Linked DNA regions of Homo sapiens: all the other regions are linked to region 1. The links are contacts of gene promoters, found by promoter capture Hi-C in blood cells and fetal thymus (Javierre and others, 2016). All regions are on one chromosome and are shown on one strand. The core of a region is centred on a gene start or on the middle of the fragment in contact, and the rest is flanking DNA. Distances in the headings are between cores, read along the strand shown. Region 1 holds the start of ADGB (androglobin). Region 2 has its middle 21 kb from the start of GRM1. Region 3 overlaps GRM1 (glutamate metabotropic receptor 1).

Region 1 (3,962 bases), core at 189-2,688:
TGGAGAGAAGGCTAGTGGAAGGTAACTTTAGAGAAGTAATACAGGCCTGATTCTGAAGGGCGTCCTCGGCCTTGGACCTAGAGGAATGGAAGCCATTAGACAACGCTGAAAAGACCTGACTTTGGTACACAGAAGTAAAGCAATCCTATTAAAATTACATATGTAATATTTATATAAAATTATATATGTAATATTACTTATATATGTAATATCTAAAATTTAAGCTAGTAAAAGGAATGGATTATCTGCCGGGTAACTGGAAACCTGCTTATGAGAGAGGTTAGAACTAAGGGACTAGAGATTCACAGACATGGGAATGAGTCTGGGAGAAGAATTCACAAAGAAAAAGAGTTTAAATCCTAGGGATCAGTGAATCATAGGGATCAGTCCAATGTGGAATTCTTCAGCCAGGGAAGGAAATGGAGAAACAGGCATCAAGGATGTAAGAATTCAATTTGAAATGATTGATTGCATCGCCCTCCCCATCAGGCAGAGCATGAAGAACATGAATGATCCCACTGAAGCAGGGCGGGCAGCTGGGATTCTCTCACAGTGGGAATGAACATTAGAAATGGTGTAAGTTCAAACAGCCCCAATCCTATGCTGTGGATAACTGGATATCCCTAGGGAAACAGACCACAGAAAATAATAATCATGGGGAAGTACATCCTAAGACACAACACCTAACACCAGCCCAGGACAAAGGCACCATAAAAATTCCATGAGCGAGGGTCTGTTTACTTTCTCAGAGTAAATGTTAGTAACATGAACTATACATTTATAATGTTTTAAGGTTTAGAAGCCACTTTACGTCTGACTATATCTGATTAAAGATCGTAGTCGTTGGACTGGGCAGATGCAAACTAGAAAATCACCATTAAGGTGAAATGTGTCCATGTCTGTCTGTCACTCGCTGTCTGTATCATTTCCGGGGCCATGAAGATGTGGCTTTAACCAGAAGTATTTGAGATATGCCTCTTTCTTAGGAAAGCTATGGCCTTTCTAACTGCCTGAGAGGGCTATGAAGAAGAGGAGGGGTGGCAGATTCACCCATGGGAGCTGAACACCCAAAGCAAGAAAATCAGGGGCTCTGGGAAAGGAAGTGAGTCAAGACAAGCAAGAGAGAAGGATGAGAGCGAGCACCTCCAGGATCTGGTTTACCAGAGAAGACAAGCTGCGAGGAGGCCACTAAACTTCTGCCCTGGCACAGTTTGCTGCAGGGAGGCAGCCCCAGAACTAGTGGTGAGGTCGAGGGGCTAGGCCAGGGGAGGGACGGACAGGCAGAGGTCCCTTACTCTTTCGATTTATCCGATCCGTGCGCCGAGTTGATACGATGCACCTCTTTCTTTTTGGTTTGTTTGGAGGCCATGGCAGAAGCCGATCTATGTAGGGCTGAGCTCTGAGCAAAGAGCCTGCGGGCGCGCTCGGCTCCGCGTCTGCGTTGCCAGGAGACGGCGTCCCGCGTCCAGCGCCCGGAGAGCGGGGGCGGGGCCCTGGGGGCGGGCTCTGCGGCCTGTGGCTGCAGAGGGACGCAAGAGCATAAACTGAAATCCCACATCCCCGTGGAGGAACTTGGAGTTGGTGTCTGGGGAGAAATCGAGGTTCTGGGGCACGGGTTTGGCATTAGGATTACTGGGCAGCCCTGATTAATTGGAGTTCTGCAGGACCTACACTGCCTGGCTTTGCCCTTCGGAACCATAGACATATATCGACTCTTGAATATCCAACTATTTGAACGTAGATGTTATCCTAGTACCACCCCAGTTATTCTCTTGGCTAAATATAACAAGTACCTTCAATAATTACTAAGGAGACATTACAGACACGCTGAAATTGTCAATGGCTTGAAAACCTGGGGTCCAGAAATTAACACAGTGGGTGTAAGGAAGGCAAAATAATGACACCTTGAGTCGCTGAGGGCTAGGTGATGATATCTGTAATAAAACCAATAAGGTGTCTTGTTGTTCGAATGAAAGAGTGAGTCCAAGTCATGGGCTCAGGTGGTCCTTTGCAGACTTTCCAGAAAAGGTCCAGGGGCCAGATGACACAGACAGAACCAAGTAAAATGAAACTTATTAGGGCGCAGGCTTAAGGCTCAGTCATCAGTGGTGATTTGTTAGTTATCTTGCCTTGGGCTAGTTTTTCCCTTTGAGTCTCAGTTTACTCACTTATAAATAGGAGATGCCTATTACTCACTTATAAATAGGAGTTATACCTAACTCACAGTTCTGTTTTGAGGATAAGATGCAAAGCGCAGCAAATAGGAGCCACTCTTTCAGAGATGACAGACCACCTGGTTTCGAGGAGCAGCAGACAGCGTGAATGAATGAAGTTGGCCAGGTAAATACAGAGTAGTGGATACTATGCTTAACTGAGACATGCTTAGACTGCAAGAGCTTGCAAATTTATCAAAACAAAACAAAATATTGTGTTGGTTCAATATAACCTCACTTCAGAGATATCTGACACACAGCCCTTAGGCCTAGGACCACTACTACTGGTTGGTGTCTTTCATGAGCCTAGAAATAGTTAAGTATCTTTAAATAAAAGAAATCCCCTCCACTCATGGGACTGGGCACATGCTCACAGTTCCACCTGTGCAGGCAAGAGGCAGCTTCCTGCAGAGAAAATCTTTCAACTTCTCTGACAAATGAATGCTCAGGGCTCTCCACTCAGCATAGCCTATGGTTTGTCAGACTATCCCAATCTTATTACTATTGGATTACTACTGGGGGTTACCTAGATGACAGACAGCCCCTTCGTTGTATTTCTATATGCAAAATAAATAAATTCCAAGTCAGCAGTGTTAATATTATGACTACAAGACTGCCCTGCAAACATCTCCTATATATGTAAAGACAATGAACACATCATGAAGATTCTGCTTTGTTTATACCATAATTCAAATTTCCAGAGAACTCTCTTGAATGAAAGTAGAGGACTAAATGGTGAGAAAAATTATTTACTACCAAATTTTGTCAGAGTAATCAAATTTATAGCTATAAGTATATACAAAGACTCTTGGCTGAAAACAGCACAACTTTAAGCAGCCAACCCCACAGAGAGGTGAGTTTCTTCTTGAACAAGGGCTATCCTGCAGCCATTGTTAATGGCTGCAAGATGCCAAAAGAATTAGGGAAGATAAGCCTTAGAAATCAAAAGATCTACATCCCACCGGTATTTTATGGACAAATAACTCCAGGCGAAGACAAGCAAAATGTCTTGCCAAAAGTTGCTGGGTTATTTATTGATGGAATTTGGACTAAACACATTAAAGTCAGCATTGCCAGTTTAAGCCAAACATATCACTACTCCACTCAGAGCTTGCTTTTTAAACATCTATTAAATTAGGATAAAGTAAGGGGGTTGTCACCAGAATGGAATAAGATAATCATAAAAGATGTGACGAGTATAAGTTGCCTATTAATTCCTACGCCAGTGTTCTTTCTCCTTTATTATATTAAGAGTGCAACATGCATAAATGGAATTTCTCTTCTTTCTGGAGCTAAGGTTCTGGTCAGGCTGTAATTATAAGAGCAAATCTGTTCCTCTCTAAGATAGTTCTAGCTACAAAGCTTAACATGATATTTATTGTGGCAGTGCAAAAAAGACAATAGGTCCTACTGCTGTTTTTATTTTTCTTATAACTGTTGTCAATGTCACTTTGGAATAATAATAATAATAGCTGTGATTTATTGAGTACCTACTACATGCAAGGTTTAGGGAAGGGTGCTAACTCCTTTAGAGATAAACTTGAATTTAAATCCTGACTCTTGTTGGGTAATTATGGGTGAGTTATTTAACTTCCATTTTCTTTATTTGTGGAAAGGGAAGAATAATACCTCAAATATGCTTGACTCATCCCAAGCATTCAGAGAATTATAGCTAATGTTATTATTCCACAGGTAAAGAACTGAAATGCAGACAGGAAATGGGACTTGCCTGACATGGAGCAGGTGGTA
Region 2 (3,962 bases), core at 660-3,159, 590 kb after region 1:
AGTGTGGGACTCTGGCCTCTGGTTTGTAAGAAAGCAGAGAAGACCCTGTTCTCAAAAAATTGTGTTTATCAGTTTTGGACTTTCCAGGGGCTATCAAGGGACTGATACAAGGTGCTTGCCTTTGTTTAAGCTAACTTGGAATGCTCTCAGGTGGAAAAGGAGCCATGCTGAGGGAATTCTCTGAAAATATTGTAAGACAAATGAGCAACCTACTACCACCTGAGGCAAGAGATTCCAATTGAGATAAACAATAGACATGCCAAAAGCATGAGAAGAAAAGGAGAGTATTCTTCAGAAATAAGGGCATTGAAAAGCACCCATGTAAACAAGAAAATTTAGAAAACCATGCACATGACCAGGGCAGAACACACACTTAGAAAAGATCTGAGAACACTCTAGGCTTTCACCACTGACTCAGGTCTAGATTTAGCATAAGCAGGAAGTGAAGGCTAAGGCAGAGTTGTAAACACCCTGGCTGAGTTGGGAGCGTCCCAAAGGAGCAAAAGCTGCAAAGCATAGGAGGATTTCTTTATTTTCTTTTTTACATTTTCTTCCTTCTTTCCTTCTTTTGTTGTCTTTTTTGTTATTGTTGTTCCATTTTGTTTTTGGAGCCAGGCATTTAAGGAAAACTCTGTCAAAACACCAGCTGAATAGAAGCTAAAGAAACAGATTGGAGACTACACACAACAAAGAATACAGAAGTCGCAAAATAACTTAGAAAAGTGACTAAACAAGCAACCAACTAAAACCCACAAAAAACTGCAAAACCAAACCCTGACAAAGGGGAGAATCTGATTTCCAGAGGTACCACATTATATATTTAAAATGTCCAGTTTGCAACAAAAAATACAAAGTATGAAAAAAAAAGAAATATGCCCTAATCACAGAAATAATTAACAGAAACTGACCCTGTGAAGCAAAAACATTGGACTTACTAGAAAAAAACTTTAAATCAGCTCTCTTAAATATATTTAAAGAGCTAAAGAAAACCATTGAAAAAGAGTGTAACGAAACAAAAATAACGATGTCTCAGCAAGTAGAGAATATTAACAAAGAGATAAAAATTATAAAAGAAAGGTAGCAAAAGTATAAAAAATGGAGCTCAAAAGTATTATAACTGAAATGAAAAATCCACAAGTGTTTGCATAGCAGATTTGAACAGGCAGAAGAAAGAATCAGCATACTTGAGGATAGGTCGATTGAAATGATTTAGTCCAAGGTGCACAAAAAAGAAATAAATAGAGCCTCAAACAACTATGGGACAACATCAAGTGTACAATAATACAAATAATAGGAGTTCCAGAAGGAGAAAAGAAAGAGACAGAAAGAATATTTAAAGAAATAATGGTCACAAACTTCCCAATGTTGATAAAGACACAAATGCAGATATCCAAGAATCTGAACAAACTCAAAACAAGGATAACACAAAGAGTTCCATACCAAAACACATTGCAATTAAACTGTCAGAAGTAAAAGACAGAGACAAAATCTTGAAAGCAGCATGAGAAAAGCAAATTTACAGTTACAAGGAATCCTCAACAACATTAGCAGTCAGTTTCTCAGCAGAAACAATAAAGGCCAGAAAACAGGAATGACAGAGTTAAAATGCTGAAAGAAAATACTGTCATTTAAGTATTGTATATTCAGCAAAACCGTTTTTCAGAAATGAAGACAAAATTAAGATATTATTTGATGAACATAAGCTATGGGAGTTTGTCACCAGTAGCACTGCCCTATAATAAATGCTACAAAGGAGTTCTATTCTTCAGATGGAAATGAAATGACTCTAGACAGTAACTTGAAGCCATACAAAGAATTAATGTTACTGGTCAAGATAACCACATAGGTAAACTCAAAGATTAGTATTATTGTATTTTTGGTTTGGAACTCTTCTTTCTTTTCCTATATAATTTAATGCCACAGGTATAAAACAATAATTACAAATCCATGTCAATGCACACACACTGCATAATGTATTTTGTGAAAACAACACAAAGGGGGTGGTAGAGCTCTAGGGAGCAAAGTTTTTGTATACTATTGAAGATAAGGTGGTGTTAATTCATAATATATTTTTATTAGTTTAAGAGATTAATATTCCATGTGAATATAGATACAAAAATTTTCAAAAATATTGGCAAACTGAATACAGCAGCCCAGTAAAAGGATTATATGCCATAAGCATGATTCATCCCAGAAATGCAAGTTATTCAATATACAAGAATCACTCAATGTAATATAACACATTAATGAAATTTTTAAAAATTTACCACCTTAATTTATACAGGAAAAGCATTTGGCAAAATTGAACACCCTTTAATAATTAAAATAATTTAATTTAAAAATCAGAGATAAAATAGAACTTCCTCAACCTGATAAAGCACATTTATTTAAAAAAGAAAAAAAAAGCTAATATTATACTCAATAGTGAAAAACATAAAGCCTTTTCCCTGAAATCAGGAACAAGACATGGATGCTCACTTTTACCAATGCTATTCAATAATGCACTGAACATTTTAGCCAAAGACTACTAGACAAGAAAAAAGAAATAAAATCATTCAAATTGGGAAAAAAGAAGTAAAACTATTCCTTTGCATAGAAAAAATGGATATTTACAAAATACATACATAAAAAAATTCTAAAGAATCCACACAAAAAATTACGAGAGGTAATAAACAAATTTAGCAAAGTCGAAGGATACAAGATCAACACACAAAAATTAGTTGCATTTTTAAAAATGTTTTATTTTCAAGTGTAGGTATATAGTAGGTACATATATTTATGGGGTACATGAAATGTTTTAATACAGGCATGCAATGCATAATAATCACATCATGGAGAATGGGGTATCCATCTCCTCAACCATTTATCCTTTTTGTAATAAACAACCCAATCGTACTCATTTAGTTATTTTAAAGTGTAGTTATTATTTACTATAGTCACCCTGTTGTGCTATCAAATAGTAGGTCTTACCCATTCTTACTAGCTATTTTTTGGTACGCATTAACAATTTCCACCTCCTATCCACCCCCAATACCCTTCCCAGTTTCTGATAATCATTCTTCTACTGTCTGTGTCCATGAGTTCAATTGTTTTAACTTTTAGATCCTACAAATAAGTGAGAATACGTGATGTTTCTTCCTGCCTTTCTTATTTCATTTAACATAATGACCTCCAGTTCCATCTATGTTGTTGCAAATGACAGGATCACATTCTTTTTATGGCTGAATAGTACTCCATTGTGTATATGTACCACATTTTATTTATCTATTCATCTGTTGATGAACACTTGGATTGCTTCCAAATCTTGGATATTGTGGACAGTGCAGCAACAAACATAGGAGTGCAGATATCTCTTTGAATATACTGATTTCCTTTCTTTAGAGTATATACCCAGCAATAGGAAGATTGCTGGATCATGTGGTAGTGATATTTTTAGTGTTTTTGAGGAATCTTCAAACTATTTTCCATAGTGGTTATACTAATTCACATTCCCACTAACAGTGTATCAGGGTTCCCTTTTCTTCAGAATTTGTTATTGTCTGTCTTTTGGGTATAAGCCATTTTAACTGGGGTAAGATAATATCTCATTGTAGTTTTGACTTGCATTTATCTGATGATCAATGATGTTGAGCCCCTTTTCAAATGCCTGTTTGCCATTTGTTTGTCTGAGAAATGTCTACTCAGATCTTGTGCCCAGTTTTTGGCTGGATAATTATATTTTTCCTATAGAGTTGTTTGAGCTCCTTATACATTCTAGTTATTAATATCTTGTCAGATAAGTAGTTTGCAAATATTTTCTACGATTATGTGGGTTGTCTCCTTCCTTTGTTGACTGTATCCTTTGCTGTGCAGAAGCTTTTTCTTGATGCGAGCCCATTTGTCCTTTTTTGCTTTAGTTGCTTATGCTTGTGGGGTATTACTCAATAAATTTTTTGCCCAGGCCAATGTCTTGCATAGAGAGT
Region 3 (3,962 bases), core at 755-3,254, 560 kb after region 1:
TGCTGCTGATGAATTTTATGATCTTGAGCAAGTCATTTTGTTTTATTTTTCTGGGCTTTTGTTTTCTCATTTGTAACAAGAAAGTTTCCTAAAGTCTATAGTAGATGCTACACCTTTATCTTAATCATGAATTTCATTTTAATCTTATATTACTAGGTTTAGGGTCGAAAATCTGTATCCAATTAACTGGCTTCTTGGACTTGCTTAATATTCATCAGCTGAGAAGAAGTCATCGCTTTGGTGGCAGTTTAAGAAAAACAACTGAAATGTATTTATGGGTACCATCTTCTTGTTCTTTGAAAAGCTGCTGTGAGGAATATAACATGGTAGTGATTATAATTCCCATTTTACAAATGAAACTGAGATGTGCATGCATACAGTATTTCCCATATGTTTTGTGCATTTTTCAAAACAGTAATTAAACATTTTCTTTTTAACCCATGAGCCTATAACTGTCTATATATTTACATGTCTCTTCCAACAAATATTAGTAGTAATAATAGTTATTATTATTGATTTTTATTACTTTATGTGTTACTAGCACCAAGAAAAATATGTGATGCATAATAGTCACGTGTTTATTTATAAATGTCTTTATTAGAAGGCAAATTAGTTACTAGGTAATCAAAGAATTTCTGCCTATCAAAATCCTGTGCTTCTACTACAAATTAAGGCTTTTACCTGGATATTTAGATAATTGCCTTGAATATTTAATTTGTTGGCTATGAAATAAATAAAATAGATAATCCTAAAATTGATAATTGGAGATTTCTGAGAAGCAATTCTCTTCATAAAAACATTAATGTTCTATTTGGTACTACAATGCCTTAAGTTTAAGAGAGTAAAGCTTTCTGGAATACAGAAGGTAATTAAAATTATAATTTCTCATGTAAGTTAAGATTTTAAATGTTGTAGACATTCATAGAGAACAATTAAACAGGAAAAAGTAGCAAATATTTCTATATAATTTTAGAATCTAATGATAACTCTCTGTTGCATAAGACAGTGACATTTTGACAAGGCTTTATGCCTTGTCTTGACTCTGGTTTTCAACTACAGCTTCTCTGAAAATTGACAACTTTCTCCTACTGACATGCTGTTTCCAACATATATCAGAACAGCATGTGCCATGAGTTTTTTTAGTGGTTGTAGGTGTTCACCAAACTATTCTTTTCTGGATGTGGTTCCCCAGCCCTCTGTGTTCTTAAAAAAGTGTATGCCGAAAACACGACTTTTGATAAGTCTCTTTGTGAACCCATCACTCCAGTCACTGCCCAGTTACTGAAAATCCACAAAGCAGTTATTGTATATTAGCTCCCTATATCATAAGGGCAAAAATTTTAATACTTGTAGAAGGATGGCTACTGCCAAGCCACACGGTAGAAACATAAAATGGAAGCTGCCATCACCACCTACCCTATGAAGGACAGCTTCTTATAAAATTTGCAGCAAGATAAACGTAGTCACAGGGTGATTGTGTGGCAAAGGAATCACAAAGAGTTCAAGTTTACTCAAAATAATGAAAGTGTCATTTTTTTCGTCTTTGGATTTCACTCTAATTCTATGCACATAATAGCTGTTTGCTAAATACTGATTAATGACTTTAAAAATGAGTTTAATAAATCCAGCCAAGATATAAAAGAAAAAATAAAGATAAAAATTTTTAAGTATGGCAATTTGTGGCCATTTTGAGTAATAATAAATGGCCTTATATTTTTTTAACAGGCTCCAAGATTACCACCATATTCCAGCGCAAGGTAAAAATTTATGTTCACGATAACTTGGTATATTCAAGGAAAATGTCCATTAAATTGAGCACTGTCTTTAAAAGAAGTTAGGGGACCTTACAGTAGTGTTTGCAAAGATCACCTCATAAAATGTTTTAAATGTAAATGTTGGTGTTTAAAGAGACCAACTCTCAAGTATAAAGTAGACAGCTAGAGAATCAAGGTTATGGATAAACAAGGTTTTACTTGGATATGAACACTTGTTAAAAAATTACAAATAAAGTATCTCGTAACAATATCTGGCTTTTCTTTCGTCCACTCACCAACTTTTGCCAATAATATATGTTCTCTTGGCCAAAGTTCACATGTCTAACTGTGCTTGGATGTATCTTTCTTGAAACCAAAACTCTTTGTCACATGCTTCAAGATTCTCCATTACTTGTCCTTCATGTCTATAAAGACTGATGTAATCACAGAATATTAGGACTTACTTCTGTTTTTATTATTAGTTCTTACCCCAGACTCTTTCCTCCAGATAAGCAAATCTGTTTTTTTCACACCATTACAGTACTTTCAATACTGTCTCTTTTACAAATGCTATGTTTCCAAACAAAACTCTAACCAAAATTCCCTTTTCTCCAGGTTTTCTCTAGATAATTGCACCACTAATACATTCTTTCAGTTCCCTACAATTGAATAAACTCATGTTTATAAATGTCTATACTGTGATTGCTTTTACTTACTTTACATGTATTTAAACTGCACTCCCCTTAAAGTAAAAACTACTTAGTAACCGAAATTAAGTCTTCAAAATTGTTATTTAAAGTTTTTATGCAGTAAATCTTTACTTAAAGTCATCTGTTGTGATGACTTTTCATTTAAACTACATATAGCCATTTATACATTTGCAAGGTAGTATAGTAAGAGGAGGAAAAGCACTGTATAGAAGAAATTCATAATAGGCTGAGTGAACACCAGAATTAGCCAGGTAGTTTGCTCGTGAAAGGGTTTGAGACTTTACTTTCGACCCTTATCTTATTCAGGTTTTAACGTATATGGTTAAATCCTGGAGACACAAAGCTGGAATACTAAGATAAATTAAACAATCAAAATCCCAGAACTTACTGATGTTAGAAAGGCAGATTGAAGCTAATAATTTTACATTTAAAGGGAAAAAATTCAAGTCCTCCTCTTGAATCTAATGGTAACAGTAACAAAATTAATAACTGTTCAAGCATAAAAGGAAGGAGATATGGATTAATAGCAGCACTTCTGAAAAGACCTTGGGATGTTAATTGATGTAAGATCTACTCTAGTCAGCTATGATGGTAAGGGAAGTAAAAAATGAAATGCATGAGTGAAGGAACTGGAGAGCTACACTACAAAAGAGAGATTATTCATTGATGATAAATGTCACATGGAAAAGAAGCTTGAATGTTTTGGATGACTCCTAGTCTTCAATGAAGGATTGGTGGAAACTTCAAGAAATCTGTTTTAGGTCATTACATAGAAGAACTGACTAAAAGTCAGGTGAAATTCTGCTCTCAATTTAACTCCGATATACTCCTACTCTAATTAGAAACCCTAATCACAATTAGAAAGCTTTGAGCGTGGGCAAGCACGTAATGTGATGTTCTAAGCATCTTTTATTAGTTGGCCTGAATAACCTTTCAAAACACTCCTATTTCTTACTATATGATAAAATGAGCAATGTATTAAGATAATTTCCTTTGAAGTAGGTTGCAATCAAGACAAGAAAGATATATAGAAAGTTACTGGTACATAGATAGGAAATATGATATTTAGTAGATATAAAATTATTACAGGTAATTGCATTAATCAAAGTATGTATTTATGACTTAGGAGGACTTTTTTCTGATGTCATTAGACTTTTTAATTGTTTTATATCAAATAAAAAAGTACTTAAAAAGGAAAAAATCAGATTTTGGAAAGAAGCTCAAAAAGGCCAATTTTATATAAAATGTAAGCAAATGTCAAAAAAATGTCACACCAAGATCAAAATCTAACTGGAAAGAAAAGTTTACCTTAAAGTGGATATTTTAATAAGGGAAGCAGCATCACTAAATTCATTATTATATCAATACTTATCTAAGTAACTGAGACAAAATACTAGAAGAAAGGCTTAAGATAAATAAATAAATACATAAAAGTAATGAATGAAAATTTATCCACTCAAAAAAAATTCTTGTAGCTACATACTCAAAGAACATTTTT

The links. Contacts are between HindIII fragments. The CHiCAGO score rates a contact against its expected background, and 5 or more counts as called.
Region 2: a fragment that was not itself captured here is called in contact with the fragment with the promoter of ADGB in region 1 in 1 of 17 cell types (endothelial precursors); the score reaches 5.3 in endothelial precursors.
Region 3: a fragment that was not itself captured here is called in contact with the fragment with the promoter of ADGB in region 1 in 1 of 17 cell types (endothelial precursors); the score reaches 5.4 in endothelial precursors.

What each region holds. Positions count from the first base shown.
Region 1 is chr6:146,596,448-146,600,409 of GRCh38, reverse strand. It overlaps ADGB (androglobin), which reads right to left and starts at 1,438. Exons shown (of 36, transcript NM_024694.4): 1 at 1,296-1,438. The coding sequence starts at 1,369. ADGB-DT (ADGB divergent transcript) reads left to right here and starts at 1,479. Exons shown (of 3, transcript NR_125860.1): 1 at 1,479-1,577; 2 at 2,239-2,340; 3 at 3,906-3,962. RefSeq lists a silencer at 1,343-1,637. The HindIII fragment of the contact is 3,644 bases long and covers 1-3,577 here.
Region 2 is chr6:146,005,998-146,009,959 of GRCh38, reverse strand. No RefSeq gene overlaps it. Among named protein-coding and RNA genes, the nearest start is that of GRM1, 21 kb to the left of the region's middle. The HindIII fragment of the contact is 3,896 bases long and covers 1-3,857 here.
Region 3 is chr6:146,033,467-146,037,428 of GRCh38, reverse strand. The region is part of intron 1 of GRM1 (glutamate metabotropic receptor 1); the gene reads right to left. Among named protein-coding and RNA genes, the nearest start is that of GRM1, 6.4 kb to the right of the region's middle. The HindIII fragment of the contact is 2,309 bases long and covers 850-3,158 here.